2 separate regions of the Homo sapiens genome follow, and region 2 is linked to region 1. Evidence: promoter capture Hi-C in 16 types of primary human blood cells and fetal thymus (Javierre and others, 2016). All regions are on one chromosome and are shown on one strand. The core of a region is centred on a gene start or on the middle of the fragment in contact, and the rest is flanking DNA. Distances in the headings are between cores, read along the strand shown. Region 1 holds the start of ZCCHC10 (zinc finger CCHC-type containing 10). Region 2 holds the start of PPP2CA (protein phosphatase 2 catalytic subunit alpha).

Region 1 (3,365 bases), core at 497-2,996:
TGAGGCAGGAGAATCATTTGAACCAGGGAGGCAGAGGTTGCAGTGAGCCAAGATCGCACCACTGCATTCCAGCCTGGGCAACAGAGTGAGACTCCGTCTAAAAAAAAAACAAAAAAAACCTGTCTGACTTCGAGCCTTCTTCCTTCACCAAGCTTACTACTCTAACTCCCTAAGTCTGTCTGTACATTTGAGGAACTCTTCTTATCAGGCCTGAAAGGGTAGATGGAAAGGAGAAGAAAAAGGGATTATTTGAATTAAAAAATATAAAAAGATATACAGATAAACACACATACATATACTAGCAGACTCTGAGCTACATATAGACATGAAAATGGAGATGGCATGAAATATTTATGAAAAAGAGGCAGATGTCTGGATGTGCAAAGGCTGTTGGAAAAAAAAGCTTTATAAGAAAGGGGTTGCCGCGCGCGGTAGCTCACGCCTGTAATCCCAGCACTTTGGGAGGCCAAGGCGGGCGGATCTCGAGGTCAGGGGATCGAGACCATCCTGGCTAACACGGTGAAACCCCATCTCTACTAAAAATACAAAAAACCAGCCGGGCATGGTGGCGGGCGCCTGTAGTCCCAGCTACTCGGGAGGCTGAGGCAGGGGAACGGCGTGAACCCGGGGGGCGGAGCTTGCAGTGAGCCAAGATTGCACCTCTGCACTCCAGCCTGGGAGACAGAGCAAGACTCCGCCTCAAAAAAAAAAAAAAAAAAAAAAAAAAAAAAGAAAGGGGCATCTGGGGTGACCCTTGCATTATTTGTCAGCTATGAATCTCTTCTGCCACTCTCTCTTGTTCATTAGGCGTAATGGCTATCTTTCAGTTCTGTAAAAAGTAAGTTTCAGGCTCAAAGCAATTATGCCACTATCCGGATGCTCTTTCTCAAAATCCTCGTATGACTGTTCCTTTTTCATCCTTTAAATCTCTGTTCAAATTCCACCTCTTCAGAGATGCCTTTCCAGTCCAACCAACCTAAAGTGGGCCTTTCCCTCTTTCCATCACAACAGCTTACTTCCTTCAAAGCTGTTATCACCAGCTGTATTTACAATTTGTGGTTTATCGACTGTTTCCATCACTAGAATGTAAGCTCTCTGAAAGCAAGGATTTTGTCTTGAACACCTCTATTTATACCCAATGTCTGGCACAGAACGGTAGGAACTAAATAAATTAATATTTATTGAAAGAGAGAATGAGTAGCAAAAGGTGGTAAGATAGCCTGGGAAAGCAATCGGCATTGAAGGCAGGGTGTTCCTAAGGAAGGCGCTAGAATAAGGAAGTAGGAAAAGGCAGCTGGGCTGGACACTGAATAGGAAACTGAAGGTTTACGTCGGCTGGAATAAAGGTGTCGGACCGGGGCTTCAGGGCTCCCCTGTCCACGCGTGGGGTTGGCGGAGGGGCATAAATCACTGAGTGACCAACTGTGGGCGTTCCTTTCAGAGAAACCAAACGCGACAGTTGTCTTCAAACCCCGCTCTGTCCCGTGCCGCAGACTTTACGCGGCTGTCTTCCGCGAAATCGCTAACCCCCGGTCACCAGACTTATCGCCCGGGCCCGAGCCCCCCGGGAGCCAGAAGAGTGTTTGAGAAACGGACATTCTCCGCCGGTCCCAATAGGGGTCCGACACCAGCCCGTTGACGCGCGTTTCCCCGCTCCCAGCCCTCCAGTGGACCCGAACCGGATCCTTACTTACGCTTGTCTCCGGGCTATTAGCCGATGCATGGGAGTCGCCATCTTAGCGCGGTCAAAGCCGGCCGCGCAGGGTTTTGGGAAACTCCTCGGAAGGGCGGGGCTTCCAACCGGGAGGCCGTAGACGTAGGCGGGGCCAGACAGGCTTCTAAGGGGAGGTATCTTAGTGCCGGCTGGTGGGTCGGGAGGGGAGGGGCTGGAGGGTCGGGAGGGGAGGGGCTGGAGGGTCGGGAGGGGAGGGGCTGGAGGGGCTGGAGGGTCGGGACGGGAGGGACTGGTGGGTCGGGAGGGGCCGGTGTCTCCAGTATGGGTCTCGGGTTCTCGGGCCGAACAGGGTTTCAAAGGATGATTACAGGCAAGAACATTATCTGTGGAAAATGAGGACAACATTCTCGAACGAGGGATACACATACAAAGACAAAGAATGAAACTTTGGTGTTCAGAAAACTAGAAGTAGTCTGGAGAATAGAAAGGAATTAGTTGACCAGGATTGAGACCATCAATTGAAAGAATGACTTTAGCAAGCCATGGAGTGCAAACATATACGTTATTTCTGTTTTTTATGTATTTCACAGCGTTGTTACGAGTACTAAATGGGACTGTATAACTAAAGCTGCTTTATCAAGCAGAAAAGGACTATACAAATATTTTAGAATATTTTAGCTGCACCTACATCTAATGTCAGCTCACGGAGCTATTATTCTCTTAAAACCCACGTTCTCTGAAATATATATAATTTTCTGAAGTGTGTGTGTGTTTCTGGGTCATCCATATTTTTTCCTTTTTTTTTTAATTTGAGACAGAGTCTCGCTGTGTCGCCAGGCTGGAGTGCAGTGGCGCGATCTCGGCTCAGTGCAACCTCTGGGTCCCTGGTTCAAGAGATTCTCTTGTCTCACACTCCCGAATAGCTGGGATGACAAGCACGCGCCACCATGCCCAGCTAATTTTTGTATTTTTACTAGAGACAGGGTTTCACCATGTTGGCCAGGATGGTCTCGATCTCCTGACCTCATAATCCGCCCGCCTCGGCCTCCTAAAGTGCTGGGATTACAGGCGTGAGCCACCGCGCCCAGCCATATTTTTTCAATTAATAATTAACACTTAAAATGTTTTAGGAGCTGAGGACAGAGCATTTGAACAAATAAAATCCGTGTACACATGGAACTTTCTACAGACAATGAATGAAGACTATTCTCATGGGCATAAGTACTCTAACGAAAAATATTTCAGAGTAAGGGATTAAAGAGTGATTAGGAGTTAGGGAAGGTGATGATGTGACCTTTGAGCACAACTTGTTCTTCAAAAAAATAGGCTCTTACATGTTGTGTTCTCCAGCTTGATTTTTTCATTCCTCAGTGTACTTATGAAAATGTTTTCCCGGCCAGGCGCAGTGGCTCACGCCTGTAATCCCAGCACTTTCGGAGGCCGAGAAGGGCGGATCACCTGAGGTTGGGAGTTCAAGGCCAGCTTGACCAACATGGAGAAACCCCATCTCTACTAAAAATACAAAAAAAATTAGCCGGGCGTGGTGGTGCATTCATGTAATCCCAGCTACTCGGGAGGCTGAGGCAAGAGATTCGCTTGAACTTGGGAAGCAGAGGTTGCAGTGAGCCGAGATCGCGCCATTGCACTCCAGCCTGGGCAACAAGAGTGAAACTCCATCTCAAAAACAAAA
Region 2 (3,365 bases), core at 496-2,995, 1.2 Mb after region 1:
GATGATGTGCCACCTCATCCACTAGTAGTAGTTTTGTTCAGGCTTGGGAGAAACAAATCTAAATCTGACTTACTTAAATTCCAATTGTTCACAACATGGTTTCTAAAAAAGCCTGTCTTGGAAACATATACGTCAAACTCATGAACCTAATTTTCACATCAAACCAGAAACAAATCAGGATAATAGTTCTCCATTAATTCTTTTCACGGATACAAAATGCTAATATGATACTCCACTATTCTGTACTAAAGTGACGTGCTGCAAAGTTAATTTTGAAAAGGGAAGTTAAAATGTTCACAGCAGAGATCAGCATTTTGTGTACTTTAGAAAACTGAGTTACAAGAATTTAAAAATACAACACAAAGCTAATAGCTAAATTAACTACCTGTTTCCCCAACCCCCAGGGGAAAACAAAAGGGAATTAGCTAATATAAAGTTTAGTGTTACTAAGTGGACTACAACATTCTATTTTCAGTGTATGTGAGACATTATTTAAACACTAAGCACAATGTCTGGAATACAATCTCAGTCGACAGTTATTATCACTACTACTACTTGCAGCCACAAAATACTATCAAGTAATTTTTGCAACAAAGATACAAAATTTACCGCTCTTCCATTTTATGTTGTTCATTTTAAAAATAAACGGCAAAATGCCAAGTGTGTTAAGCTTAGAGAAGGCTTTGAGTCAGCATATAAATCATATTCAACCGACACTTGATTTCCAATCCAAAAGCTCCTTATGTAGTATGACTCACCAAATTCCCGATTTCTTCCAACTATGAAAAATAAGTTACACTCCTCCCTTATAGCTACCACCATGACCTTCGTAAAAATTAGGTTAAGAGAATAATTTAAAAATTCTTAAAGACACCCCTTACCTTGATTTCTGGAGAAGATCGCTTGGTGAGTTTAATACAAACCACCAAGGGGTACTAAAGCTGTGTGACCTTTAGGTATGTTCTGGGATACGGCCTAACAAGACTGCCTTTGGGGGATCCTCTGGGCAGCTCTGGACCTAACTAGGCCTGGGTACCAGCGGCAAGACTCTTACTCAGCCCACCGGAGAGGCCCAGGCTCCATTCCCAAGCCGCAGAATCCAAGCCAGCTCACCCTCAAAACCGTCCCTGACGATGACCCACAGGGTCTCCGCTCCCCCTGCCACCTCGTCTGGCGCCAAGGCCGGCTGACTCAAAAGCCCAGGAGTCGAGTGAACGGCGCCATTTTAGGCGGCGGCGGCAACCAATCCCTGCGCGGGAGGCAGGGGGCGCCGGGTCGTTAGGAAGCCGCCGCCGGCCAGGATGGGCGCCGGTCTCGGAGACTCGGGGGGCCCGGACCGGCGGCCTCCGCCATGTTGCACCCTCCTCACGGCCGCCTTTTCCTCGGCGGGCTCGGCCCCGCGGCGGCTGTCCGCAGCCGTACTACAGCTCACCTTCTCGCAGAGGCTCTTGACCTGGGACTCGGACAGCTGCTTGCACTCGTTCAGCTGCTCGATCCACTGGTCCAGCTCCTTGGTGAACACCTTCTCGTCCATGATGCCACCCGCCCCAGCCGGCTGCCGCTCCGCGCTGCTCCCGCGCCGCCGCCCGCACACGGGCCTACACGCACACGCCGCCGCCGGTTCCTCGTGTACTTCTGGCGGCTGTTGAGGCTGGCGCTGGCCCGCTGGCTCTCACCGCAGTACTCGGCCGTCGGCCGCTGCGCCTCCTCCTCCGCTCGCTGAGGCTCCAGAGCTCGGCTCTCTGTAATGGCGGCCGCCGGGCGTGGTGACGTCACGCCCGGCGTCAGGAGGCGGCGGGGAGCGGAGGGGAAAAGGGCCGGGGAGCAAGCTGCGCAACTGCAGAGCCCTCCCCGGGCGGCCGCACGACCGGAGTTGGGGCGCAAACTGGGGGTCAAAGCGCAGGCGCGACGTAGCCGGCTGGTAACTGAAGCGCCTTGACTTTTTGGGCGTGGCTCCCGGAGGGCGGGGTGGTGGGGGAAGGGAAGGATGGAGCTGGAGCATGCGCAGTGCGCACAGCGGCGAACCGGACTAATCCCTGAGCACTATTCCAGGAGAGGCGAGGGCTTGGGCCGCGCGCAGGCGCAGACCGGATGGAAGCCGGGGCCACTGGCAGCCTGTAACTGGTTCCCCTGGGAAGGCCGCTCTGGTGATGAACTCAGCTCCTCACCTGGGGCCTGGCAGTCCGATCACGGAAACGAGAATTGCGACCCCGTGGCTCATCTGGGGTGCTGCGGCTCTGTAATCGTGTGGGTTTCCGTCATCTTTGGGGGCAGGAACGGGCAGCGAGTGGCCGCTTGGATTAACCACCCCCACCTCTGGGCGCGGCTGGCACCTTGTAATTAGGTCACTCGTAGGTGGAGGAGCGTGTACCTACCGGGGGAGTGCTGCGCAGTGCACCTGACTTCCGCGGCACACACCCGTCCCCGGACCTAGGTGTCTCGTCGGGCGCGATGGCGGGGGCGAGGCTTGGGCTTTTCTTTGGGCCTCGGACCGCGGCTCGCTTCCACGCGCCCCGCTCCTCGCCGGTGGTTGCTTTCCTCCAAGTTTAATTCTCTCTGGGAATGAGAGACCCTCAACCCCTGCGCGCCCTGGCCTACTTTCAAGAGGGGAAGCCCAGAGAAGATGGATGCACCTGTCCTGACCGCGTCTCGGTGGCGTGAGAAGCAGCTGTGATACGTGCTTAAAAGAGAGAGCTCGTATACCCTAGGATTGGACCTCTGTCTGGTTATGAATCGCTTTGGAGTTTGCGAAACGTTTTCACATTCCATTGTCCCTGCTTTTACATAAATATCTGGTTCCATAGAGCGCCAGCTATATGCCAGATCCGGAGGGGTCATCCAGACGGACCAGGGACCATGCCCTGGAGCTTGTATTCTCCCAACAGTACTGGCTGAAGATGGTTTGGGATAGGCAGAAGAGAGATCATAATGCCCCCAGGATTTGAAAGATATAGAAGCTTTCCAAAGAACATTTAACCATAAAGGGCAAGGCAAGAGCTGAACCTGATCGCCTGTCTTCCAGGAACCCCACCCTCAGTATCAGGCAACCCTTCCACACCCAAGTGCTCAGCGATGCTTGGGAGGAGACTGCTCACTCTGCGGCTCTGAGGGCATCATCCCCACCAACAGGCTGAAGAAGGCACTGGAGGCCCCATCAGCCAATAGCAGGACTGAAAATCCTCCTTTATCCAAGACAACGTGTTTGGCAAGGCCGACTGGCTTGGCCTCCCTAGGCTGGAAATTGCAATTCTGCTTTCCCTTCACACCTCCCATTAGTGTGCACAAAAGAAAGTACCTTAAATCTACTCTTCTAGAAGTCTTATCACATACTTAATTTACCAGACTGGGAAAAAGACCCTTTAGCC

What was found. Contacts are between HindIII fragments. The CHiCAGO score rates a contact against its expected background, and 5 or more counts as called.
Region 2: the fragment with the promoter of PPP2CA here is called in contact with the fragment with the promoter of ZCCHC10 in region 1 in 1 of 17 cell types (non-activated CD4 T cells); the score reaches 8.9 in non-activated CD4 T cells.

The regions. Positions count from the first base shown.
Region 1 is chr5:133,024,803-133,028,167 of GRCh38, forward strand. It overlaps ZCCHC10 (zinc finger CCHC-type containing 10), which reads right to left and starts at 1,747. Exons shown (of 5, transcript NM_001300816.3): 1 at 1,695-1,747. The coding sequence starts at 1,735. RefSeq lists an enhancer at 1,507-1,816 and a silencer at 1,897-2,026. The HindIII fragment of the contact is 6,187 bases long and covers 402-3,365 here.
Region 2 is chr5:134,224,328-134,227,692 of GRCh38, forward strand. PPP2CA (protein phosphatase 2 catalytic subunit alpha) reads right to left here and starts at 1,746. Exons shown (of 7, transcript NM_002715.4): 1 at 1,433-1,746. The coding sequence starts at 1,534. MIR3661 (microRNA 3661) reads left to right here and starts at 1,430; the gene lies at 1,430-1,525. PPP2CA-DT (PPP2CA divergent transcript) reads left to right here and starts at 2,083. Exons shown (of 1, transcript NR_186539.1): 1 at 2,083-3,365. RefSeq lists enhancers at 1,036-1,145, 1,485-2,004, 2,005-2,526, 2,526-2,685, 2,527-3,046. The HindIII fragment of the contact is 2,287 bases long and covers 669-2,955 here.